6 separate regions of the Homo sapiens genome follow, and regions 1, 2, 4, 5 and 6 are each linked to region 3. Evidence: promoter capture Hi-C in 16 types of primary human blood cells and fetal thymus (Javierre and others, 2016). All regions are on one chromosome and are shown on one strand. Each heading gives the region's core, a stretch centred on a gene start or on the middle of the fragment in contact. The rest is flanking DNA. Distances are from core to core; before and after follow the strand shown.

Region 1 (4,276 bases), core at 1,079-3,578, 230 kb after region 3:
TGTGGCTGGGGGTGTTGAGGGGCTGGGACGGGAAGCTGGAAGGAAAGTGGTGTGAGGTGGGCCAGGGGGTGATGTCTCCTTCCTGAGCCATCTCTGTCTAGTCTAGGAGTTTGCACTTGATCTGTGGGTGATGCAGACAACTGCAGAATCCTGAGAATCGTGGTCACTTGTGCATTTTAAAAAATGATGGGGTGGGTGTGGTGACTCACGCCTGTAATCCCAGCACTTTGGGAGGCTAAGCTGGGAGGATCACTTGAGCCCAGGAGTCCAAGATCAGCCTGAGCAACATAGTGAGACCCCATCTCTAAAAAAAAAAAAAAAAAATAGCCAAGCGTGGTGGCATGCACCTGTAGTCCTAGCTGCTTGGGAGGATCACTTGAGTCCAGGAGATTGAGGCTGCAGTGAGCTATGATCCTGCCACTGCACTCCAGCCTGGCTGACACAGCAAGAGCTTGTCTAAAAAAAAAAAAAAGAAAGAAAGGAAAAAAAGATGGCAGTAATAGGACCCCTCTTAGAGCTGCTAAGGAACTTATATCAGTTGCGTTTGTAAAACCTGGTACATGGTGAGCACTAGTAAGGATTGCTAAATGTAGTAATATCATTCTATTCAATTTTATAGTCCTCATTTTTAATTAGTTCAGCTTTGTCTAGCAGCACGATGTGTTTTGGAAACTTGTTTTACTGTTATTGCTGCTACTAATAGTACAGTTTTATCTAATATAAGACGGAAAAGAATAATCAATTTTTATTTCCATTAACTACAGAGCCAAATGGTTGGATATAGTTTTTCTAAGAAAAATTAAGTTTAGCTGTAGCAAGGAGTATGTTTGCTATTGGTTTATATGTCAATGTACTTAGCAATTTGACATTTCCTTACTGGGAGATAAGTTTGTATCTTGAGTATAAAGACTTCACAGGTAAATAAGTCCAGTGCACTCATTTTAAAATTAATAGTAACTTCAGTAATTAATACATTTGAAAAAATAAAAGTTTGCATTTTAATGCCTGTCATCAGGTTCCTCTAGGTTATACTCTACATGCTATGAAATATAAAAAAGAAAGACTCGTGAATGGCGTGTTTCAGATGGTATAACTGTAATAATGTTTTCAAGTCAATATTTGTGTTGGTATGATTGAGGTTTTTTGTTTGTTTGTTTTTGAGACAGGGTCTTGCTCTGTTACCCAGGCTGGAGTGCAGTGGCATGACCATGGCTCATTGCAGCCTTGACCTCCCAGGCCCAAGAGATCTGCTTACCTCAGCCTTCCAAGTAGCTGGGACCAAGCGTGTGCCACCATGCCCGGCTAATTTTTTTTTTTAATTCTTTTAGTATAGACAAGGTCTCACTAGGTTGCCAAGGCTGGTCTTGAACTCTTGGCCTCAAGCAATTCTCCCAGCCTCAGCCTCTCAAGGTGCTGGGGTTACAGGTGTGAGCCACTGTGCCTGGCTGAGGTTTTATAGCATTCACTAAATATTAACCTTTAAGAATGTCTTTATATTTAAAAACACAAGATTTTTAGGGGTTATAACTGAATCTGTGTTTGTATATTATTGTACAGATAATTGTGTTTGATGATGTAATTTGTTGCATGAACTTGGACTGCCTTAACATCTTAAGTGTTAGAGGAGACCCAAACTTACACAGGGCAGGATGTGGGGGAAGTTACAGACAGGGGTGGTTCTTGAGATGAGAACTAGCAAGGTCCCTCGAGTGAAGACTGGCATGTTGGCCTTTTGCCTGGGAGAGCAGGGACTTGGATCCTGAGGCTTTGCTGCAGGAAGCTTGAACACACAGGGAGGAGGCAGTTCCCAGTGGGCCGATATGCACCCCTTGTACACAGTGTTGACACTGACGCTTGCATTAGCAGACAGATCCTGGATGGTGTTACTATTAACAGCTTCCATTGACCAACCTGCACTTTACAGGTAGCCTGGGACTTGCCTGATTTGAGCCCTGGAATTTCAGCAACCTAGGAGCCCTTCTTTGTCCCCAGAAGTCCCGACCCAGATGGTTGGTCACCCCATGTACAGGGTTTTAAATGTTTAAACATTGCACCTTAATTTTCACGGGGCGGGGGCTAGTGTGCTATCCCATTCTTCAGGCGGAAATGGAAGCCTAGGGTCCCCACGTTACTGCCCTGCTTGGGCTCCACCTTGGGAAGGAGGTGGAGCAGTTAATGGTTCTTTTCAAAGGTGGACAGCAGCGAGCATGGAATGACAAGCAAGTGCTACGTTTTAGATTGGGGCAAGGCTGACTAAACTGCACTGTGGTTGTACAGAACTTCAGTGGAGTGTTGTGGTTGACCACAAATTGAAATTAAATCAGCAACATAGTGATTTTCTTTTTCAAGGAAGACTAAAATAACTTCCTGCTAACTTAGTTGGTTCTTGCTGTACTTCACCATTGTAAGCCAGTGAGGTCTTTATATTAAAGTATTTCATTGTCCTTTGGGATTAGCTTCCAGGAGGTGGGGAGAAGTTTAGGAAAGCGAGCACAATTACGAGGAGGCTGGAGGGGCACTGCTTTAGGGGTGGAGGGTAGGATTATAGGTGACAATGCCAATGATCTTTCCATATGGAACTAAATTAATTTATGTAGGATTCATGATCCCTTCAAAAACATATTCATGACTAACCTGGTTCATGAAAAGAGGCAATTTTTTTAATGTTCTAGAAAAAATTCTAACTACTGTATTAGCTATCTATTGCTATGAATTAAACAACCTCAAAACTTAGTGGCTTACAATGACGATAAATATGTATTATCCCACACAGTTTCCATGGGTCAGGAATTTGGAAGTGGCTTGGTTTGGGTACATCTGTCCCAGGATGGCTCATGTGGTTGCAGTCAGGATGTTGCCCAGATCTGCAGTCATCAGAAAGCTTGATAGGGGCTGGAGGGTCTGCTTCCAAGATGAGTCACCCACGTGGCCGCAGGCAGGAGGCCTCCATTTCTCACCATCAGGGCCTCTCCACAGGGCTGTTTGAGTGTCCTCACATCATGGCTGCCAGCTTTCCATGGAATGAGTGATCCAAGAGAACAGGAACTATCCTAGCTTCAAAAGCCACACTCCATCACTTCCAGTTTCCTAAGGGCTACAGATGTCAGTTCAGTGAGGAGAGGATGACACAGGTGCAAATATCAAGTAGGCCTTACCCACCTGGCCTCACTCATCTGGCATTAAACTTCTGTTTTTAATATCCTGGCATTACCAACCTGGCTTACCCACCTGGCCTTAATTCCTTGGTTTTACTTACCTGGACTCATTAAACTCTTGGCCTGAACCTCTTGGGTTCACCCACCCAATGTTATCTACGTGGCTTTATTCACCAGGCCTTAACACACTGTGTAACCTCCTGGCCTTACTCATTTGTCCTTACCCAATTGGCTTATCCAGCTGGTCTTACACACCTAGCCTTAACCTTTTGACCTTACTCACCTGATGTTGACTACCTAGCTTTATTCAGCTGGCCTTAATCTCCTGACCTTAGTCTTAACTTCATGTTTTTCTCCACCTGGCCACATTCACCTGGTTTTACTCATCTGGAATTAACCTCCTGGACTTAACTTTTGGTATGTTACCCCCTAACCACCACCATAACCCTCCTGGCCATATCCCCCCTGCAAGCTGTATCACCACCTTTCCCCCGTCGTGGCCTCTCTGGGGGGTTCAGTGCATGAGTAACCAGCATGACCGGCATGTTGCTGCCTCTGTCGGAGACAATGCTCTGCATTGCTCCTGAGACTAAGCCAGGCCCAGGATTGGGTTCCCGCCTCATCCCTCCTCTAGTGTTCCTGTGAAACTCGGTCTTCCTGTGCTCCTGCCATGAGCCTGGGCTGCTGTTGCCCCATCAGGGTCCTGGTCCTGATTCTCCTAATTCTATTCCACCTCACGCCTCCTAGCACTGCAGGTGGCTCTGGGCCACTTGTTTCACCTCCTCCTCCTCCTCCTGCTACTGTGGATTTCCAGATTTCCCCCATATCTATCAGAGTTCTCCAGAGAAGCAGAGCCAGTGGGCGATATGTAATGCATGTCAAAGAGATTCATCTCTAGGAATTGGCCTACATGATTGTGAAAGCTGGCAAGTCTGAAATCTGTAAGGCAGGCTGGAAACAGGTAGGAATTGATGCTGAGGTCTTGAAGCAGAATTCCTCTATCAGGAAACGTCAGTTTTTGCTCTTAGAGCCTTCAGCTGGTTAGATGAGTCTCACTCACACCATCAAGAGTAATCTCCTTTACTTACTTAAAGTCAACTAACTATAGGTATTAACCTCAT
Region 2 (4,300 bases), core at 1,682-4,181, 210 kb after region 3:
TCTGCAAAATGAGGGGTCTGATTTGGAAAAATCTCTGAGATTCTATAAGTGATCTAAAATTAGTTAACATGCATTCAGTTGAAAGAACTGTTTTTTATTAGAGATTATGATCTTTCTACTTTTCAGTATTAAAATTTCATTTTTTCCTTAAAACGATGATCATAATAAATGATGATTTAAGAAACTGTTTATACTTAGCAAAGTAAGACATTGGAAACCTCATGTTTGTACCTCAAAAAATTATTTTAAATATTTTACATAAAATCTCCATGACTGGGAATCACTGATGAGATGCTTGACCATCCCAGATGTGGAATGGGTGGGACAGTGACTCAGCCAGAGCACACATTGGCATTCCGATGCCTGGCATGGCGTCCAACTTTGGAATCCAGCATCCTTTTATGACAGCCAGGATTTCTCCAACACCGTGGTTTCTAGGATAAAATAAATCTTACCTTCCATTGGGGTCGTTATGTTATCACTGAAATGCATGAGAAAAATTCAACATTCATTTTGACCATGTGAAAGGAAAATAAATCTCCGGAACCCAAAATCACTAAGCTAAGGGAAAAGTCAAGTTGGGAACTATGTCAAGCAAACCTGCCTCCCATTTTAATTTCTAAATAAGATAGCTACAGAGATTAAAGAGATACCTACCTCCCTCACAATTTGCCCACAAGGAAATTCCATGTGGGCCTCAAGATTTTTACCTTATAACAGTTCTGTTGAATTTCACCCTGGCAATGTAGACTAATATAATAGCTGATCTTCACAGGTGCTAGACAGAAAGTCATCCCTTTGCTTACTGGAGACAAATGCATATCTGATTGCTTCCTCTGCCCTGCTGTCTATGTAAAAATGCAGATTCACTGAGCCAGACTCAGTGGAAGGCTGATCAAGGACTCAAAAGAATGCAACCTTTTGTCTCTTATCTACCTATGGCCTGGAAGACACCCCTCCCACCCCAGCCCGCCCCTCCTTCTAGTTGTCCCGCTTTACTGGACTGAACCAATATACATCTTACGCATATTGATTGATGTCTCATGTCTCCCTAAAATATATAAAAGCAAGCTGTACCCAACCACCTTGGGCATATGGTGTCAGGACCACCGAGGCTGTGTCACGGGCGCATCCTTAACTTTGGCAAAGTAAATTTCTAAATTGGTTGAGGCCTGTCTCAGATATTTTGGATTCACAGCAGCAACAAAACAATAGCTACATACTCCACTTTTGATGGTTATGCATACAAAGAGGTCAAATACAGTTCTTCATTGGAACCCTTTTTAAGCTATTAATAGCTGTGGGGATCTGTTGCTTTTTTATTTGTTTGAATTAAATTAAATGGAACAAATACGCATTTGAATATGAACTGGACTAATGCTGAACGAGGGACTGCAGGGAAACTGAGACTGGATGACCCTGGGCTGCTGCCCTCAAAGGAGTTATTATCCAGGAAGGGTTACAAGACAAGAAAACAACTGGCTGCAACCAAGGGGAGGCAGGGGGAACAGGCCTGAGCTGGACTTAGTCGTAGGGTAGGGGTGGGAGATGAGAAGAGGAAGGGGGCAGTTTGAGGAGGCACAGGTCACCGTTGACAGGGGACCAGCATTATGAGAAGAAGTGGCATTAGATGGACCAGAGCGTGTGAGCAATTTGGGGCCTGCAGCTGTGTCATCACCCTAATGTCCCTAGTTCCTGGCAGCCAGTGAATGCTCAACAAATGTTGGAAAAATTAATTAAATAAAAATGAATGGCAGTGGATGTGCTATTAGAATCAAGAGTTGGCCAAGCGTGGTGGCTCACACCTGGAATTCCAGCACATTGCAGGGCTGAGGAAGGCGGACCCCTTGAGCTGAGGAATTCAAGACCAGCCTGGGCAACATAGGGAGACCCCGTCTCTACAAAAAATACAAAAATTAACCAGGCATGGTGGCACGTACTTGTAGCCCCAGCTACTCAGGAGGCTCAGGTGGGAGGATCTGCTTGAGCCCAGAAGGTTGAGGCTGGAGTGAGCCATGATCATGCCAAGGCACACGAGCCTGGGCGACAGAACGAGACTTTGTCTCAAAAAGATTAAAATAAATTAAAATAAAATAGCGTAAAATAAAAAAAGTTACTGAGCACTATGCTTTTCTTGGACTTAAAATTACTGGGAAAAGCTCTCAGTTTTGGAGTGTTAATGTGCATGAAGGGATGCTTCCCCATACTTTAATTAAGTGTCTGTAGTACTTACTGTTCAACACAAGAGGGAGCTGCTGCCCAGTTTATTCAACTAAAATATTTCTGTATGTTTGCTCCATTTCTTCTCAAACTACGGTATAGTATACTGTGCTATCTAACCACCCTCCCCAAATATAGCCCACCAACCAAAAATTCCCATCACAACTCAACAAAAGTATTATCAGCAGTACCTTATTTTCCAAAATGAATTTCTCCTAAATTATATGATTAGTAGGGGAAAAAAGATAATATTTTAAATGTCTTAGGAACAGATACTCGAGGCCAGTCTGGAGTGTTCTTCAGATCCTTAAATAAACCCAGGATTTTCCAGTGATGAAAGCTGTGCTTATAAAAATGCCTTGGGACCTCATGAGGGCAGCAAGGCCAATTCAAGGGTCATTTCCGAGTGCCCAGGTTTTCATGAGGGTCAAAGTCTCCCTGAGATATTGGCTGAGTCCAGGCCTCAGACATAGAATGTGCAATTTATTTTGCAAAGAGCTGCAAAGAATAGACTATGAAGTAGCCAAAATTCAGGTGTGCCTTGAATCAAGATCATCTGACATACCTATCAGAACTTAGGGGAAAAAATAAGCAAATTAATAATTTAATTAATTTTTCCAACATTTGTTGAGCATTCATTGGCTAGGGACATTAGGGTGATGACACATCTGCAGGCCCCAAATTGCTCGCATGGTCTGGTGATTTTGAAAATCATATTTTCAAAAATATGATTTTTGAAAATTTCTTGCTTTACTAAAGGATTCTCTTCAGAAATTTTTCCATAGCAAACTCCCTAGTATTGTACATTAAAAAAACTTCAATTACCAAAATCGAATCTGCATACTATTGTTCAGAGTCACCATTTCTAGCAAATAAAGGGTGCTGTTATCATCTAAAAACAGCCCACTATAAATGCCAGTGTATAGTTCATTCAAATGTGGGAGGTCGCATTACTAAGGTAAACAGAGATCAGTGTGTCTTTAGTGATCTGAGAATGAAATCAAGAAAAGAAAGAGCTTAAAGTGAGAGAACATTTTCCCAAATCACAGTCAAATTCAGTCTTTGTTAAGGAATCTATTTTTCATCTTGAAGAATGAAAACAATTCCTTTGGTCTCCCTAGAATGGTATCATTATTAATGATTCTTTTTGGAACAAGTCACAGCTGTCTGTGATCCCCATTGGCCAGACAGACCCTCCCATGTCTGGATGTCCATGTTTATGTATCACCTTCTCTCCCTTCTATTGATGTCTCATACTCTTCACTTCCTGGGGGCGAGGACCATGCCTTCTTGACTTCTATGTGACCAACAGAGCCTAGTGCAGGCTGGTGGTGAGCAGTTCATTCGTGTTTAGAAAAAATCACAGCCAGGCCAGGCGTGGTGGCTCATGCTTGTAATCTCAGCACTTTGGGAGGCCGAGGCGGTGGATCACCTGAGTTCAGGAGTTTGAGACCAGTCTGACCAACATGGTGAGCCCCTGTCTCTACTAAAAACACAAAAATCAGCTGGGCGTGGTGGCGGGCGCCTGTAATCCCAGCTACTCAGGAGGCTGAGGCAGAAGAATCGCTTGAACCCGGGAGGCGGAGGTTGCAGTGAGCCAAGATCGTGCCACTGCACTCCAGCCTGGGTGACAGAGCGAGACACTGTCTGGAAAAAAAAAAAAAAAAAAAAACACAGCCGAGGGGAGAGTGACTGATAAATAAAGGATGAAGAAAATGGGACGTTTCATACTCGTACTTAAAGGTTGTGTGTTTTTGTTTGTTTCTGTTGGTTGGTTGGCAAATTTTAATTCTCTGCTCAAGAGGTAGCAGAGAGTGTTGAGGAGTATGGACTCAGACGTCTTGAGTTCAAATCCCAGCTCTGCCACATCTATCTGTGTAGTCTTGGGCAAGAGTCTTGTCTTTGCCATGTCTCAGTTTCTTCATCAATAGCATGAAGCTGCTGCTGCTGCTGCTAAGACTTTCCACATGGGGTTTGTAATTTATAAAGTACTCAAAACAGTGTCTGACACAAAGTTAATACTATTAGTATTTATAAAACAGAATAATTATATTTAATGGGATGTAGTCAAGTGTACTTT
Region 3 (4,183 bases), core at 1,240-3,739:
AGAGTCAAACAGATTCTGAGCTTTATGGTTTATCAACTCATAAGTTACTTAGTCTTTCTGAACCTTTGTTTCCTCAACTGTAAAATGAGAGTAAAAACCTCCCTATAGGGATCAGTCATAGCAGCTCACGCCTGTAATCCCAGCATTTTGAGAGGCCCAGGCAGGTGGACTGTGTGAGCCCAGGAGTTTCAGACCAGCCTGGCCAACATGGCAAAACCTTAGTCTCTACAAAAAATTAGCTGAGCTTAGTCATGCGTGCCTGTTGTCCCAGCTACCTGGGAGGCTGAGGTGGGAGGATCACCTGAGCCTAGGAGGTCTCTGCAGTGAGCCATGATCACACCACTGCACTCCAGCCTGAGTAAGACCCTGTCTCAAACAAAGACCTCCTTAGAGGGATATTGTGTGGATAGAATATTTTATATACAGCTTATCACAGAGTAGGCCTTCAAAAAACGGCAGCAATTGCTATTAGGAACTGTTGTCTTACTACTAATAATGATAAAAAAGTAAACATGTTAGTTCTTCAAACATAACTGGTAAAAGATCCACCAACTAAAAAAAGAGGGATGGGATGCGTCATAAATTTATCAGTTTTTGTTTTATACCAAACAATTAAGATAAGTTGAATTTAATTTGGTTTGATAGTAAATGGTTAACAGTGAAGGCAGAGCTCTTCATTTTTCTCAGGGTGATGGTCAAATAGTTGTAGCAATGTCCAAGATTAACTTTCAATTCGTTGAAAAATTAAAAAACAAAAAAACAAAACAAAAAAAAGGGCCGGGCGCAGTGGCTCACGCCTGTAATCCCAGCACTCTGGGAGGTCGAGGCGGGCGGATCACCTGAGGTCGGGAGTTGGAGACCAGCCTGGCCAGCATGGTGAAACCCTGTCTCTACTAAAAAGACAAAAATTAGCCGGGCTTGGTGGCAGATGCCTGTAATCCCAGCTACTCGGGAAGCTGAGGCAGGAGAATCTCTTGCACCCGGGAGGCAGAGGTTGCAGTGAGCCGAGATCCTGCCATTGCCCTCCAGCCTGAGCAACAGAGCAAGACTCCGTCTCAAGAAAAAAAAAAAAAAAAAGCAATCTGCCCCTCCCCATGAGGTTTCTTTTAACGTTTCTCAGTATTATAAAAGAAATACCTGCTGAGGTAAAGTCAAAATAATCAAAATGACTTTAAAAGTTTCATTTCATCCTAATCTTTTTTAAACGGGAAGATAATATGCTTTCTAAAGCATATTTTAAAATGAACAGGAACCACAGCAAGGGAAGTTTTAAAAAAAAAATTACATCCAGCCTTTTTATCTATAAAAACAAAGCTTGTTACAGAACAAACACGTTCACAGTAAAAGACCACTCGCTGAGGCACGAACTGAAGAAATGCTACTGTACTTACAAACCGCTTCTAGCCACATCACATTTGGCTTAGATCACATAAACGAACCACTGATACTGTAAATAACTGCTATTAAGTGAAAATGCGGGGGGAAGGCGAGGGTTGACTAACTTCATAGAGAAAGCTTTAAACTCTCAGGCTATTTCTCAAACATCCAACATCCTTTATCCCGTGGGATAAGTGTAATACAGTGTGGTACTATTAGAGCACTCTTCAACATTAATAGTCGCACCATTCACCCACTCCTACCTACTTGCAGGGCGCCAAATGTCCTCCCTAGAGACCCAGGGTAGGGAGCGCTGAGCACTGCCTCCTTGCCTCGTCTGCAGGGACAGACTGTGGCCCTCCAAGATAAGGGGCGCAGAGAGTTCCTAACCGAATAGGCTGCTCGGAGAGCAGCTGCCAGCCAACCCCTGGGAAGGCAGCTGTGGAAGTGGAAAGGCAGCCAGGGGTCTTTGCCTGGCGTAAGAAAAAGGTGGTCGCTAGTCTTCCCAGGGCACGGGAGTCACAACGTCATGGTAACTAACATACCCCAAAAACGGGTAAGGGAGAAAATTTGGCGCAGTGCTCCAGGTGCCTGGGCAGAAGCCTTCGGAAGGGCCAGATACTGAGGGTACCCTCGGGATAAAGGGAAGAGTCTAAGAAAGACAGGGTGGACGCCCGTGCAGTGAGGAGCTTCCCAAACTAGGGATGGCAGTTCTGTCTCCGGAGGGGACGAGACACCCCCTCCCCCGCGCGAGCCTTCCCGGGTGATCTCACACGTTCCACAGGCAGGCGCTGCGGGGCAGAGACAGCAGGTCCAGACAACGGGCCGCGGGGCCAGGGCGCAGAGGGTCGGCGGCTGCCCACGTGCCCAGGCCTGAGGGGCAGAGGCAGGGGTACCCCGTGCCCGCAAGGGAGAACCAGGACCCAGCAGGTCCGCGCTCCAGGGGCCCCTCTCACCTGCTTCGTCTGCAACCTTGGAGTGGCGAGGAGAAGGGAGCTGGTGCTCGCAGGGTGCCAAGCAGGGAGAAGACCACCGTCATCTCCCGCCCCCAGCCCTCTTCGCCGAGCGCAACCGGGTGCCAGCTGCAGCAGCTTAGGCACGTTCCGATAAAGTAAGGTGGGGTAAGCCGATGCGGCCCTGTCAGCTCAGCCCCTCGCCGGCCGCGAGGCCCCGCCCCCGCCCCGCCTTCAGGCCCCGCTCCCTCCCAGCCCCGCCTTCAGACCCCGCCCCCAGCCCCGAACTTCCAGCAAGACGGGCCGCTTCCCGCCCTCGAGCCCCGCCCATTTCCAGGAGCCTTGAGCCCAGAGTCTCCGTCCCGCCCTCAGGCCCCACCCACAGCCTCGGGCCTCCGAGCCACACGTTCCCCAACCCCGCCTTCAGTCCCCGCCCCCTCCTCCAGCCTCGGAGCCCCAGGGTACCCGGCCCCGCCCTGCCGGCTGGGAGCCTCCCAGCCGCGATCCTCCGGGGCGGGACTTCCGGCTTCCCTGCTCCCACAAAATGGTAGCCGCCGTGGGGGATGTCCAGTTTTTTTTCCTCTTCCCAAGTACAGACGCAGAGCAGACTTGTCTTTCCGCTTAACCTCAACCTCGTGTGATCTGCCAGTTTCGCTCCCGGTTAGCCCAGGACTTTTTATAGCATAGAGTTTTAAAGCAAGGGCTTAGAATCAGACCTGGGTCAAAATCCTGCCTTCCACCTTCACCAAGGCAGTGTGACCTTGACGTTCCTACATAAGAGATTAAAATGTAAACCCTTAGCCCTGAGCTTGTTTTAGAATCTGGGCCCCGTCCATGACTGCTTCTATTCTATTGCGGTACGGGGGTGGGGTGGGGGTGGGGAACTACATGCATGTCCACTCAGTATACTGAAACTGGTTACATTGATGGAAAACTTCCAAAGCTTCTTGAAATAAAGGTATTGAAACTATCCTCACAGGGTTTATAAGAATTCTGGACAAAAATATAATTAAGCATTAATCAGGCTACACTTTGACCCACTTCCTTGTAACCCGAAAGTCGGGTAGAGCTAGATAGTACATTTGTATCCCGTTGTCCCTATAGATAGGCTTTCTGATGTTAAGAGTCGTAAGGCTTTTTAAGAATTGCTTAAAATGTTTTTCAGACGCCAAATTCCAGCGAAACAGCTGATGCCAGCCAGCTTGAAGACCCCTGCCACAGAAGAAGGGAATCAGCATGAGAATACAGCTTCTTCATCTCGCTGTCCCATGACTTCGCCCTGTACTCTTCAGCCAATTAATGATCTCCACACTTGGGACCACTCTAAAACCCTTAAGAACCTGAGACTCAAAGTCCTCCTGGAGACGAATTTGAGGTTTCCTCCTATCTGTGTTTGGTGGCCCTATGATTAAACCTCTTTCTCTTCTGCAACCTGGTGTCCCAGTGTATTAACTTGCCATGGGCATCAGACAACAAACCTATATATAGTATCCCAAATATGGTGCTCCACTTTGAAACCTGAAGAAATCCTGCAATTGAGTTAGCCTTTTGAAATAAAAATTATTTCAAATTTTAAAATATTTATATATGTTTCCACTTAAGATATCTACAAGCATTTGTTTACAACCTTTTATCTTGCTTTGCATCTTAAACATTTCTGTATGGCAATTTCCGTGTCTTCCTATCATCTCGGCCATCTTAGTGCAAAGATACAAAATTGTGTGGCTTATTAAGAAAAATTACAGTAAGCTAAGGGTAGGTTAAAGGATCTGAAACTTAGCAGGAAAAATGAGCAGAAATTAAAGCTATAAAAGGCATGGATCCTGCTCCAGTTCTCTTTGCTTCTCCTTTGT
Region 4 (4,454 bases), core at 1,653-4,152, 140 kb after region 3:
GTTTGTTTTACTTTACTCCATGCTTCTGGAAAGCAGGCTGGGGGGCTCTGGATGCACATAGACCTGGGTCTGAATTCCAGCTCTGTGGAATGCATCACCACTTCACTTCACCTCTCTGAGGCAATTTCCACCTCTGTCAATGGGGCTCATGGGAGTGCCTGCCTCATAGGCTGGTGGAGGGTCCAATGAGATAATTTAAAGACAAATTTGATAACTGTTTTCTTGTAAGTTGAGGGAAAGATTAATTCAAAACTTTTAGTCTCAGTTTGGGCTAGGAAATGCCAGTGTTATTCCAGGGTACTAACATAGGTATTTTAAAAATAAGATGCTTTTTGCTTTCACAAGCTGACTAAAAAGTAAAGACAAAAAGTGACTTCAGAAGTCAAATGTAACTCAATAGTCTTACATGCTTAGATCCAACCCAGAAGAACTCAGGGTTCTCCTTCCTGAATGAAGATAATTTGAAGTTGCATATTTCGATCCATAGTTGGCTGAACCCACAGATGCAGAGCTTGTGAATATGGAGGGCCAGCGGTATCTCCTTTTCTACAGGAAGACGGCATAGTTTAATTCATTAAAATTTGTAAAACTACATAATATCTGTTTCAATGACAAAAAGCAATTTCAATTATATTTAAGATGACATTTACATAAACATAAAAATTATAACCGTCTCACAATACTCTCAACTACCTTGACATAAAAGCAGAGGAAAGCTTGATTTGTTAAGGTATTGCTTTTGCTCATTTTGTTTAAAAAAACTTCTTTTTCTTAAAATAAGAATTATGGAATCATTAAGTTTTAAGCAATAAGAAGCAAAGTTCGAAACAAGAATCCTGATTCTTCACTTCTGTTTACCCAAAAGAACATTCTCTCTCTGATTTCAGTCCCAGAAATCAAACCAGTGAACACATCACTATGCAGAGTCACATTCCATGTTTTTAATGGAAGTTTTAGAAGCTACAGATGAATTTAGGAGTGATATTAAACCAAGACCATTAAGAAAGATGACTTTTTTCTAGGATTCTAACTCCTATATTCAGACACACATATCCAACTGCCCACTTGACATCTCCACTTGGCTGTCTGTCTCATAGACATTTCAAACTCACTATATCCCAAACAAAAGTCTTAGTATCTCCCCTCCACCCCAAATTGCTGTACTCACAGCCCGCCCCATCTCAGTCTGATGGCATTTCTATTCTTACTACACTTAGGCCACTTCCTATTTTCCTTAACTCCTCTCTTTTGCTTATTATTTTTCAATCCAACTGCCAATCTTGCTGGTTCTACCTTCAAAATAACCAGACTCTAATTACTCCTCAACATCTTTACTGCTAACCCTTGTCCATGGCACCAGCATGTCTCACTGGAGTATTTCAATAGCCTCCTAACTGGTCCTTCTCTTCCACTCTTGTGCTCCCACAGTCTATTCTCAATACAGTGGCCAAAGGGAGCTGTTAAATTTAAAGTCAGATCATTGTCTCTTTTTGGATCAAAATCCTCCCCTCACTCCCAGACTCTGGGGGGAAAGCCAGAGTCCTACCATGACCAACATGGCCCTCCAGGATCTCACCTCCAAATTACTGGCTCCATGTTACTCCTTGAATACTCCAGGCATGTTCCGCTTCTGCGTCCTCAGGCTTTCCCCATGTGGCTACATGGTGAATTATCTCACCATTTTCTCCATGACAGCTGCCCTTACCAGCTCACCTACACCCATCCTCCACCACTGTGCTCTGCTCCTCCTAGCCCCGCTAGACTTCTTTCTCCACAGCATGTATCCCTTCTAAATTCCTAATATACATCACCTAGTATTTTTTAGATTTATTGTTTTTTGTCCACATCTTTTAACTTGAATATAAGATCCACATGGAAGATACTTAATAAATAAATCTGAATTAAGGGAAAATGCCAAACAAGAAAAACAAAGAGAAAAAACTTTGAAAACATCCAGTGTCCAAAAAAAGGTCTTATGATTTTCTTTTCTTTTTCTTTTCTTCTTTCCTTCTTTCTTTCCTTTCTCTTTCTTTCCTTTCTTTCTTCCTTTCTCTTTCTTTCTCTCTTTTTCCCTCCCTTCCTTCCTCCCTTCCTTCCTTCCTTCCCTCCCTCCTTCTCTCTTTCTTTCTCTTTCTTTTTTTTTTTTGAGACAGTCTTCCTCTGTTACCCAGGCTGGAGTGCAGTGGTGTGATCATGGCTCACTGCAGCCTTGACCTTGACCTGCTGGGCTCAAGTGATCCCCCTGCCTCAGCCTCCTGATTAGCTGGAACCACAGGTGAATGCCACCAAACCTGGCTAATTTTTAATTTTTTGTAGAGATGGGGTCTTCCTACGTTGCCCAGGCTGGTCTCGAACTCCTGGCTCAAGCAATCCTCAAGGCCATCTCGGCCTCCTAGAGTCCTGGGATTACATGCATGAGACATCACACCTGGCCAGGCCTTGTGATTTCTAATAGCAGGACCCATGTATTACATCTCATTTTTTAATTTTAATAATGTTTGTGGCATTTTGAAGAGGAGCAACAACAAAGTAAGCCTGACACTTAGGAGAGGCTGCTGTTTACCCTGAAAAGACCCCTAAGAGTGGCATTCTTGGGGAGGGGTAGAACACTACATCAAGCACAGAGCGTTATCATAGAGGTCCCCACATCTCCCTTTTATCTGGGAGCCAGAGGGATCAGACTCAGAATGTCTGAGTAAAAATTCACAAGAGGCTGCTGGGCACCCCGGAATCTACAAAAAAATGCCATTTCTTTCCAGTGACCATGTCCATTGTCCAGAATATACCTTTCTGAGCTAATGGTACCCAGGAAGTTGACTTAGCATTCAGAATGTGGTTCAGGGGTGTTGGAATCAGTGCTAAGGATGGCTAACCCTTCTGAGGACTGCTTAATCCATGCCGTGGTGAGCCCTGATAATGCATCACAACAGACACTTCACAAAAGATCTTCATCCATACTTACCAATCCACACTCATGTCCACAAGATTCAGGACCTATTTTCCAGGCCAATACTGGGCAACCATTGGAAATTTTTCCTCTCTGCTCCATGAGGACCAGTTCATTGCCCACAACCTTTCTCCAGGTAGGATGGATTAGCTTTCTACCCACAAAATTCCAACCATATGGCTGTGCTGTCTTCCAGGAATTACGTAGAGCTCACTTTGCTGGAGTTCTGGAAGTTCCTCAAATCTTCAATCTGTTACTCTACTCCCATTAGGCACAGATCTGGCCTCTGTAGATCCCAGAGGTGCACCTACTTTCAGATTCCCAAGTCCTTGGGGCCCTTCAACATTTCCCCCTTATGTCACCAGTGTGTAGCCAGGGGCCTTGTTCTGCACCCTCTACCATCATTAATGAGCTACTTTGACCATAGACAAATCACCTAATCTCTCTGGGCCTTAGTTTCCAAATCTAAAAATAAAAGGATATAACTCTCTAAGGTCCCTTCTAGTTGTAAAAAATCCAAGATTATTTTTTTCCTACCTCTTTAAGATTTAAATGATGACAACAGCATCTTTCCTAAACTTTTCCTGAGGCCAGATGTTCCTGGCACTGAAGTAGAGGAAAAAAATAGTTTTTGAATAACCTAACATTTTTGCCTTTTAGAGAAAATTATCCTCTGGCCTTTTTAGTTCCCCTTCCCTTACAGCTACCTCCTTATGGACCCTTAAAGGAAGTCTTTAAAACATAGAGAGGCTGAGGCAGGAGAATTGCTTGAGCCTAGGGGTTCGAGACTGCAGTGTGCCATGACTGTACCTGTGAATAGCAACTGCACTCCAGATGGAGTTCGGCAACATAGTGAGTCTCTCTCTATCAAAAAAAAGTAAACTATTTATCCTTCCTGATTCATCAGGATCTTATAAAAAACATTGTTATTTTCCAAATTATTTTTCTTACATAAAACCTCTTAAACAGTTTTATTCTGATAACTATGCTCATCAGCCTTGACTTTCCTCTGTTTTGCAGGGAAGGCTATTAAATGCTCTGGGGAAGAGGAATAAAAAGCTCAGAGACAGGGCCAGGGAAGGAAGCATGCTGTCCATGTAGGTAAATTCTGCCCTGAGCTTTCACAAGGTGATGGGCATGAAATGGCAGAGGCGAAAGTAGGGAGTGGAGAGAAGGGGAAAAGAAGAGGGAAGAAGAGAAAGTCTGAAAGCATATATTGTTTGCTTAGAAAAAAGTTTTAGGAGAGGTCTGGTGGCAGTTCAAGAATGTTCACTTAGTTAGATGACTTCTAAACTGGGACTTGCCTAAGAAGCCACACTGCAGGGAGGAGGCGGAGGTGGAACAGCAGTTCTCTTCCTTTAGCAGCCCTCCATCTAGCCTTCCGCGTAGCAGGCTGGTGAGGTATTGAGCAGCCCCTCTATTGGCCCCGCACCCAGTTTTCAGAAGTTAAGTTCATTCTACAGGTCTCTAAATGCTTCAAGGACGACCAAATCTATCCATTGTTGGC
Region 5 (4,456 bases), core at 142-2,641, 170 kb after region 3:
GGCCTAAGCGAAGTATCTGTCTTTTGTAAAAAACCATAAAACAAAATGCCAAGAATATTTTCTAACGTATTATACTGGACTAATGCTTTGAAATTTCTGAATGATGTTTAGTAGGTAAAATTATCAATGTATGTCTAGAATAGCATGCCTCTTAAACCTACCTCCAATTAATAAATTTTATGTGATAGATATTTAAAGTAAAGAAGTGAATTCAGGAACAAGCCAGCGGCTTGAATGCTGCATGCTTGGGAAGGGAAAAATCAGCTCCCAGGGTTTTCAAAGCTCCAGAACTAAGTGACAGAAAAGGGGCCTGCAGCATTAATGTCGATGTCCTGTCCACTAGTGAAACTGAACATGAACTCCTTTCAAACATGGCTGAGAATAAAAGCTAGACTTAAAAAAATCAGAAGGCTGGGTACAGTGGCTCACGCCTGTAATCCTGGCACTTTGGGAGGCCAAAGCAGGTGGATAACCTGAGGTCAGGAGTTTGAGACCAGCCTGACCAACATGGTGAAACCCCATCTCTACTAAAAAAAATAAAAAATAAAAAAATAAAAAATTAGCTGGGCGTGGTGGTGCATGCCTGTAATTCCAGCTACTCGGGAGGCTGGGGCAGGAGAATTGCTTGAACCTGGGAGGTAGAGGTTGCGGTGAGCCAAGATTGTGCCATTGCACTTCGGCCTGGACAACAAGAGCGAAACTCTGTCTCAAAAAAAAAAAAAAAAAAAAAAAAGAGAGAGAGAAATATTTCCTATTCTTTTTTTTCTCCCTAGATAAAAGTGCTCTTTGACTAGATGCCCCCTCGGATGTTCCCTGGGACCTAGAAACCCTAGAGAATGAAAAACTTATTCTTTAACTTTTCTTCTTCTGTGGAGTAACTTCTGGTGGAGGCATTAGGCTGTGGGGAGAGGACAGGATGCACAGGCAGGGAAAATGAGCCAGGAACCCAATTCTCGCCTTCTAGGAGAGAGAAGAAGCTGGCCTAGGAGCAGCGGGTTTCTGCAACAAAAGGAACCTGAGAGATTATCATGGTCAACCCAATAACCTCACACCCACACAAAAAAAGAGACCTATGCTTTGTCTGTAGTACAGATGAACACTTGTTCTGCTCATACGCCAGCCACTAGGCTGAACCCTTTCACATAATTTTATTTAGTAGATATTTAATTGGGTGAGTAGATGAATGATAAAAGTGAGCAAGTAACATCTAGAGAAGACCCAAGTCCATTACTGATACAGGTGGGCCTGGAATTCAGCAGGGCAAGGTGAGAAACAGGATGGAGAGGGTCATGGCTGAGCCTTAGGGAGAAGGGAAACAAGGCTCCTAGCAAAGACTGAGTTCATGCCACTGCTCCAAGCCCTGTAATGATTTGCCCAAGTGACTTGGAATCATAGTGAAGTTAATTAAATGCAACAAGCTCACATAGAATGAAATTGTGCAGAATCTCATGAGCATCCCATTTCCTTGAAATGGGTAAAACAGTGTGAGGCAGCTTAGAGAAAGTGCAGGGTTGTTCAGACCATGTTCTATAGCGGGATGGTCTGGTGGAGCCCCCCACAGAAGGCAGGTACACCCCACAGCATCCAGCAAAGCCTTGTTTCTGCTTGAAAAAAATGAGTTCTACACTTACAAAAAACATACACAAAATGAAAACTATGGGAATAGTAGAAAGATGACTGAAAAGGATCCCGCAGACATGAATGTGAATTGCAGTCCCACCACCACCTACCAGATGTCCTCGGACAAGTCATTTCAGCCCTTAAGCCTCTGTTTCAATATCTGGAAAATGGAGATAATATCTACTGTACACAGACATTTTTGAGGATCTAGTAAGATAAATTATGTAAAACACTGAAATTATTTGCAGATTCAGGTTTTAGGAAATATAAAATGTAAATCTTTTAATAAAGCCATTCCTCAGAAAGTCAACAGGTAGTTTCTCTTTTTCATAGATGAGGTCTTGCTATGTTGCCCAGGCTGGTCTTGAATTCCTGGTCTCAAGCAATCCTCCTACCTCAGCCTCCTGAGTGTGAGTAGCAAGGACTACAGACATGAGCCACCACACTCAGCTCTCAACAGCTACTTTCAATGGAGGCTCAGTTTTCTGTTTCCTGTTTCCTGTTTGTGTATTAACAAAATCCATGGGTGTCTCAAGGAGAAGCATTATTTAAAGAATATAGTGCATGGGACAATTTCATCAACACTCCAAAAGCAAGCTAGATAGGGGTGATCCTGCTGGGACTCTAAAAATCTACCTCTAGGGTTTAGCGAGTAATGGTATACGAGTGCTCAACTCACAGGAAACAGATCAAAAACTCCAAGTTCCATGTTGGTGGCTTCTAGGTGAGGATGCAGACCACTGCTTATGTAGGGAAGGTTGACAGAGGATCATAGTTTCAGGACTGGAAGGGACTCCGGATTATCAACATTATTTTGCTAATGAGGAAACTGAGAACTTGGGGTAGGAGATGACTCATCCAGGATCACATTAGTGATTACAGAACTCAGTCGTTCATTGAGCACCTTTCCACTGCACTAAGGTTGACTAAAAGCAGACAGACTTCTAAAACCTAACGATTTCCCATCCATAATTTATCTGCGTATAGTAAGTTTAACTTTCCTATATTCCACTTGAACACATCTTCAGAAGGCATTCCAAGCAGTGCCTTTCCACCGTGGCCTGGGAGTAGGGTCAAGCACATCCTCGTTTGCCCAGGACAGTCCTCATTTATGCTTGTCACTCCAGCGTAATTATTAATAGTGCGCCCTTGCCTCTCACCAGTACCTGGATGTGGATGGTAATTTATACAGTACTCTTTGTGCTTTTCTGGGAGAAACAGAGAGATCCAGGGTAGAACTGCTCCCCAAGAGCTTGGCAAGGTGGTTTGGAACCAGGAGAGATGTGATAACTGTCTTCAAATATTTACAGGTCTGTCCTATGTTAGTAAAATTAGGCCATTCTGTGGCTATCAGGATTAGAACACAGACTACCATGTGGAAACCACAGTGGGTGGAATTCTTCTTCGCTATAAAGAAGTGTATTCTAAACAGACTCCAGGGCCAGACTGCCTGGGTCCAAACCCCGGTCCTGCCATTTACTAGCTCCGTGACCCTAAGCAGGTTGCCTAAATTTTTTGTGCTTCAGTTTCTCCATCTGTAAAATAATAATAATTTTAAAAGGCAGCAAGATACATAGTAGGTGCTCTATAAACATTTGCTGCTACTATTACTACTGACTGTTACTTGGCAGGTAGTCAACATTCCCAGGGCAGAGATTTTCACATCTGCACCAGGACAGGACAGCTGGGTTCACCCTAGGGAGGGGGGAACAGGGAGCACTGGCTCAGCTGATGCTGGAGACACCAACCTAATGGAGAATGTGTTGGGTCTCGGGGGAAACAGTTCCACCCTATCTGCTCACTGCTTGAGGCACAGTGTGTCAGCAGGGAGGTACTGCACTGATGGCAGTACAGTGGTTGATGTAAGTGTATGAGGGTGGACTGGATCAGACCGTCTGCCTTTAATCTTGGCTCAACCATGTTCTAGCTATGGACTGGAGTTGCTTACTCACTCTGTGCCTCAGTTTCCTCCACTCTAAAAGAAGGTTACCAGCAGTGCCACTCTCACAGCATTGTCAAGAGGACTGAGTGCAATACAAATAAAGCCTGGGACAGAAAAAGTGCATGATAAATACTGTTATTACGATCACGCAACAACCACTGATGCCTAGGGCTGGTGCTGGAAAGCACCTGACGGAGGCTGGAACTGAAGTCAAGAGGGGCGAGGGGCATGTCCAAGGCCTCACAGCCTAGAAGGCATCTCAATATCTTCCCTGCATTGCACTGCAGTCCGGCTCACAGCAGACTGATTCACCCATCCTTTGAATCCCAAGGCATAGCTGATCAGTTGGTGCTGGGGCTGCAGAAGTGACCTGCACTAGGACAGCTGCAACAGGGAGGCCAGCGTGCAGCAGGTAGACCTGCCTGAGGGGCAGCCTGACCGGGCAGGCAGGTGTGAGGCCATGAGGTCAGAGCTGGGTGGAGATGGGATTGACGCAAGGGTGATTTTATTAAAAACATAAATCTCATTCTATCACCCCACTGGCAAAAAGCCTATTACATTAAGGTCCTCAGAGACCTCAGGAGCACCTGCCCTTGCCTACACCTCTGGCATGGCCCCCACCCCTCTCCCCACAGCCACACTCCCTCTCTCTCTTTTCCGGACTTGTCCAGTGTACTCTCCTCAGGGCCTTTGCACCAGGCATGCCCTCAGCCTGACGCACACTTCCCCAGGTATCATCCATCTGTCTCCTTGTCATTCACATCTCAGCTCTAGAAGCACTGCCCTCCCTTGACTGCCATGTCTCGAGCGTATCCCTATCATTCTTCATCCCATCAGCCTCTCTGCTTTTTTCACAGCCCTCATCACTGTCTTAATTTACCTGCATAAGCATCT
Region 6 (4,003 bases), core at 9-2,508, 190 kb after region 3:
GTGGCATGATCATGGCTCACTTGCAGCCTCCATCTCCCAGGCACAAGCGATCCTCCCACCTCAGCCTCCTGAGTAACTGGGCTACAGGCACATACAGCCACCATGCCTGGCTTTTTTTTTTTTCTTTTTGGTATTTTTTGTAGAGACTGGGTCCCACTATGTTGCCCAGGCTGCTCTCAAACTCCTGGGCTCAGCCATAGCACCTGGCTGCTTTTATTATTTTTAAGAAACATATAATAATTGTACATATTTATAGGATACAGTGTGATATCCCTCCCTCCCTCCCTCCCTTCCTTCCTTCCTCCCTCCCTTCTTTTTTTTTTTTTTTTTTTTTTTTGACAGGGTCTCACTCTGTTGCCCAGGATGGAGTGCAGTGGTGTAATCACAGTTCCACTTCCCTAGGCTTGAGTGATCCACCTCAGTCTCCTGAGTAGCTGGGACTACAGGTGTGCACCACGACGTCCAGCTAATTTTTGTATTTTGTGTAGAGATGGGGTTTTGCCATGCTGCTCAGGCTGTTCTTGAACTCCTGGACTCAAGCCATCCTCTCACCTTGGCCTCCCAAAGTGCTGGGGTTACAGGAGTGAGCCACCACACCCGGTCTTGCTTAGACTTCTTTCTAGGTTTTATCCTCTTCTCAGCCAAAGCAAGGGATGCAAAACTCCTGGGCAAAAGAGTTGAACTTCATTTATGTGGAAGTGAATCAGATACAGGTATTAGACCAGGAAATATCACTTCTTAGGTTCTACAATAATAACTTCTACTTTCCCCACAAGAACAAAACTTCCCACTTCTTAATTATTAGAATCATGGTTATTTTTTAATTTGGAACACATAAAAAGCTAATTATGTATAAGAATTTTAAAATGTCACATTGTGGCCAGGTATAATGGCTCACACCTGTAATCCCAGCCCTTTGGGAGGCAAGGCGGGAAGATCGCTTGAGCCCAGGAATTCAAGACCAAAGGGAGACCCCATTTCCACAAAAAACAAAACAAAACAAAACAAGGCACGGTGGTGCACACCTGTTATCCGAGCTTACTTGGGAGGCTAAGGTAGGAGGATCATTTGGGCCTGGGAAGTCGAGGCTGCAGCGAACTGATGGCACCACTGCACTCCAGCCTAGGTGACAGAGTGAGAAACTGTCTCAAAAAAAAAAAAGTCATCTTATATACATCACTTATCGTAAAGGACCACTCTTAGGATCAAATTTGTTTCTTGGCATCTTCAGAAACAAGATACTCTTCTGCAAAACAAAGATCTGTTTGGCTTTCATGAAAAATTCACTCAAATCTTACAGAGTGGAATAAATAAACCATCCTTTAACAAACATTGACAACCTACTATACAAGAATCTACTGTTTTGAGAAAATACAAAAGGATTTTTTAAAAAGTGATTGTCTTGAAAGAGCTTACAATCTAACAAGGAAGAAGAGATGCCTGCAAGTGACTGCAATACAGGATAGGGTGAATTTCAAGCCACATGTGAAGCCCAGAACAATAGCGATGGAAACTAAGAGAAGGCAGAATCAGCAAATGGAGAAGAGAACATTTTGGCTCTTGTTAAGAAGCATGTTCTTACAACGTGAACCATGCTTATCAAAGCTCCTAAACTAGTGAAATTTGTAGGTAATTGTGTCTCCTGTTAATTTTAGCACATTCTTCTTTTACTGAGTATCAGCAAAGTCTATTATTTCGACTTTTCAGCAAGCAATGATGATCAATCTGAAGATTCTTATAGCGTTCAACAAACAAATGAAGAGAAGGGGCAGTGTGGAGAGGAGGAATGGCAATGCAACAGCATACGAAAGGAAAGTGCAGTTTAGCTGGAACCCAGTATATGAAAAGTAGTGCATAATAAGGCTGATGTTGAAATTAAAGGTTAAAGGTGCGATGCTTGGAATCAGACTGCTCCACATTTGAATACTAGCTCTGTCACTAACTGTGGGACCTTGGGCAAGTTACCTAAGTTCTCTAAGCCTCAGGTTCCACATAAATAAACAGAACTTACCTCTCAGGGTAAGTGAATATCAAATGACTCAAATAACATACAGTAAGTGATAATGTTACAGAAAGGGAAAGAGGGAGAGAGAATAAAAGGAAGAAAGAAAGGAAAGAAAGATATTTTTAAATGTTTGGGCCAGATCATAGAAAGTTTTGAAGATTTCATTCACTTAAATTAATGTAATTGAGAGAGAAAAGGAAATTAAAAGAAGAAATTTAGTTATGCTGGAAAGATGGCTTATTAGAAGAAGAAAAATATATATACCCATAGTAAGCAATGCTAAAATGTTACATAGCAACATATTCCTTCAATGTGAACCCTGCTTATCAAGGCTAACAAACATTGTAGCTAATTGTATCTCCTGTTTAGCTACATTTTTATTTTATTGACTATTAGCATAGTCTATTATTTTTGACTTCTCAACAAATATTTGTGACCTGCAATCTCTGTAATGCTGAGCATGCTTCCTAGGACTCAAAAGTTTCTGATCCCTGGCCACGAGAAGAAGCAGTGGTACCCTCACCCCATGGCGTGGGTGCTGTAGTTGTGACCAAAGCAGCCTGGCCTGGGGCCAAGTGTTATTGGGTGTTTTACATCAGATATCTCATGCAATCTAATCTACTGTCATCTCTACACTGATGATGGCCACTGTGTGACTGCCACAACACATTAACCTGGTATTTCCCAGTGTCAAAGGGCCAGGAAAAGTGACAAGTCTGGTTTTTGCTTCCTCATCCTTTATCTGTCCAGACAACCTCAACAGAGTAGGTTTTCCTGGGTAAGCAGATACTGCGGGCTGGCAGCCCCTCAATACTAAGATTCTTTTCAGTGAGATCTCTCCTTGGGGGCTGTTAAAATATGAGATGACCGACATGAAACACTTGGTAAACTACAGACAGCTAAGGGGTTATTGTTCTATGTTAATTTACATCGAAAGCAGTTCCTGCGTTTAGGCTTTTTTGGTATTTACCTATGGAGAAAGGAATGCCAACAGTATTTTGTTCAGGCTAACACTGATAAATGTAATGCTAATGCTAATAATAATAATAGTCCACAAATACTGAGCAGTGACACTGTCCCAGCCAATCTGCTAAGTAATTCACATACATCACCTCATCTGACCCTTAGAACAATCCTTTTACAGAAGGGGTGTTACTCTCATTTCAAAATTGAAGATACAGGGCTGGGTGCGGTGGCTCACGGCTGTAATCCCAGCACTTTGGGAGGCCGAGATAGGCCGATCACGAGGTCAGGAGTTTGAGACCAGCCTGACCAACGTGGTGAAACACCATCTCTACTAAAAATACAAAAATTAGCCGGGCGTGGTGCACACTCCTGTAATCCCAGCTACTTGGGAGGCTGAGGCAGAAGAATCACTTGAGCCTGGGAGGCAGAGGTTGCAGTGAGCTGAGATCATGCCATTGCACTCCAGCCTGAGCAACAGAGTAAAAATTTGTCTCAAAAAAAAAAAAAAAGGTGAAGATACAAAGAATTTGTAAAAGACAGCATTGGGACTGGCCCATGCTTTACCCATTAGGAAACTCTGCCCTCTGGTAGCACATCAGCATCACCTGGGGAAGTTTTCAAAAAATGGATTCCTGGGCCTTACCACAGACTTATAGAATCACACCTTTATAAGCTTCTCGTCACACCCATGGCTAAGGATTAGCATACTAGTTAAAGTGTATTAAGCAGAATAGCATCACTCAACTAACTGAAGATATTCTGGGGGCTTTGGTACACCTAGAGTTTTCATTACTCAAAACTATACAAGGGACAGACTTAAGTTATTTTGACCTGACCATAATACCTACAGAGTGAGGAACAACTGACAAATGTCCGCCCTAGTGAACAAAAGTTAGAGCTGAGTGAGGAAGTATTCATCTGTCAAAGGGAGGTGAAGCCTAAACTGTTCCTCAATTGGAGAAGAGATGGTGGGACACGGTGTGAATGTGCTGATTAATCTTTCGATGCCTGGCACACAGTAAACACTTAATA

Evidence for each region. The method cuts DNA at HindIII sites, captures the fragments that hold promoters and counts their contacts. A CHiCAGO score of 5 or more calls a contact.
Region 1: a contact is called between a fragment that was not itself captured here and the fragment with the promoter of GPR155 in region 3, in 1 of 17 cell types (total CD8 T cells). The highest score is 5.6, in total CD8 T cells.
Region 2: a fragment that was not itself captured here is called in contact with the fragment with the promoter of GPR155 in region 3 in 9 of 17 cell types (naive B cells, total B cells, total CD8 T cells and 6 more); the score reaches 9.6 in naive B cells.
Region 4: a fragment that was not itself captured here is called in contact with the fragment with the promoter of GPR155 in region 3 in 8 of 17 cell types (non-activated CD4 T cells, naive CD4 T cells, total CD8 T cells and 5 more); the score reaches 11.4 in non-activated CD4 T cells.
Region 5: a fragment that was not itself captured here is called in contact with the fragment with the promoter of GPR155 in region 3 in 1 of 17 cell types (total B cells); the score reaches 7.1 in total B cells.
Region 6: a fragment that was not itself captured here is called in contact with the fragment with the promoter of GPR155 in region 3 in 5 of 17 cell types (total CD8 T cells, naive B cells, non-activated CD4 T cells and 2 more); the score reaches 7.6 in total CD8 T cells.

Annotation. Positions count from the first base shown.
Region 1 is chr2:174,715,229-174,719,504 of GRCh38, forward strand. No RefSeq gene overlaps it. Among named protein-coding and RNA genes, the nearest start is that of CHRNA1, 47 kb to the right of the region's middle. The HindIII fragment of the contact is 1,101 bases long and covers 1,779-2,879 here.
Region 2 is chr2:174,697,933-174,702,232 of GRCh38, forward strand. No RefSeq gene overlaps it. Among named protein-coding and RNA genes, the nearest start is that of CHRNA1, 64 kb to the right of the region's middle. The HindIII fragment of the contact is 6,385 bases long and covers 1-4,300 here.
Region 3 is chr2:174,484,540-174,488,722 of GRCh38, forward strand. GPR155 (G protein-coupled receptor 155) reads right to left here and starts at 2,490. Exons shown (of 16, transcript NM_152529.7): 1 at 2,334-2,490. It overlaps GPR155-DT (GPR155 divergent transcript), which reads left to right and starts at 2,849. Exons shown (of 3, transcript NR_183819.1): 1 at 2,849-2,877; 2 at 3,496-4,183. RefSeq lists silencers at 2,005-2,187, 2,451-2,630 and an enhancer at 2,041-2,110. The HindIII fragment of the contact is 1,758 bases long and covers 1,514-3,271 here.
Region 4 is chr2:174,625,415-174,629,868 of GRCh38, forward strand. It overlaps a transcript of WIPF1 not described here. Among named protein-coding and RNA genes, the nearest start is that of WIPF1, 30 kb to the left of the region's middle. The HindIII fragment of the contact is 4,377 bases long and covers 715-4,454 here.
Region 5 is chr2:174,657,202-174,661,657 of GRCh38, forward strand. It overlaps a transcript of WIPF1 not described here. Among named protein-coding and RNA genes, the nearest start is that of WIPF1, 62 kb to the left of the region's middle. The HindIII fragment of the contact is 8,270 bases long and covers 1-4,456 here.
Region 6 is chr2:174,676,003-174,680,005 of GRCh38, forward strand. It overlaps a transcript of WIPF1 not described here. Among named protein-coding and RNA genes, the nearest start is that of WIPF1, 80 kb to the left of the region's middle. The HindIII fragment of the contact is 4,768 bases long and covers 1-3,642 here.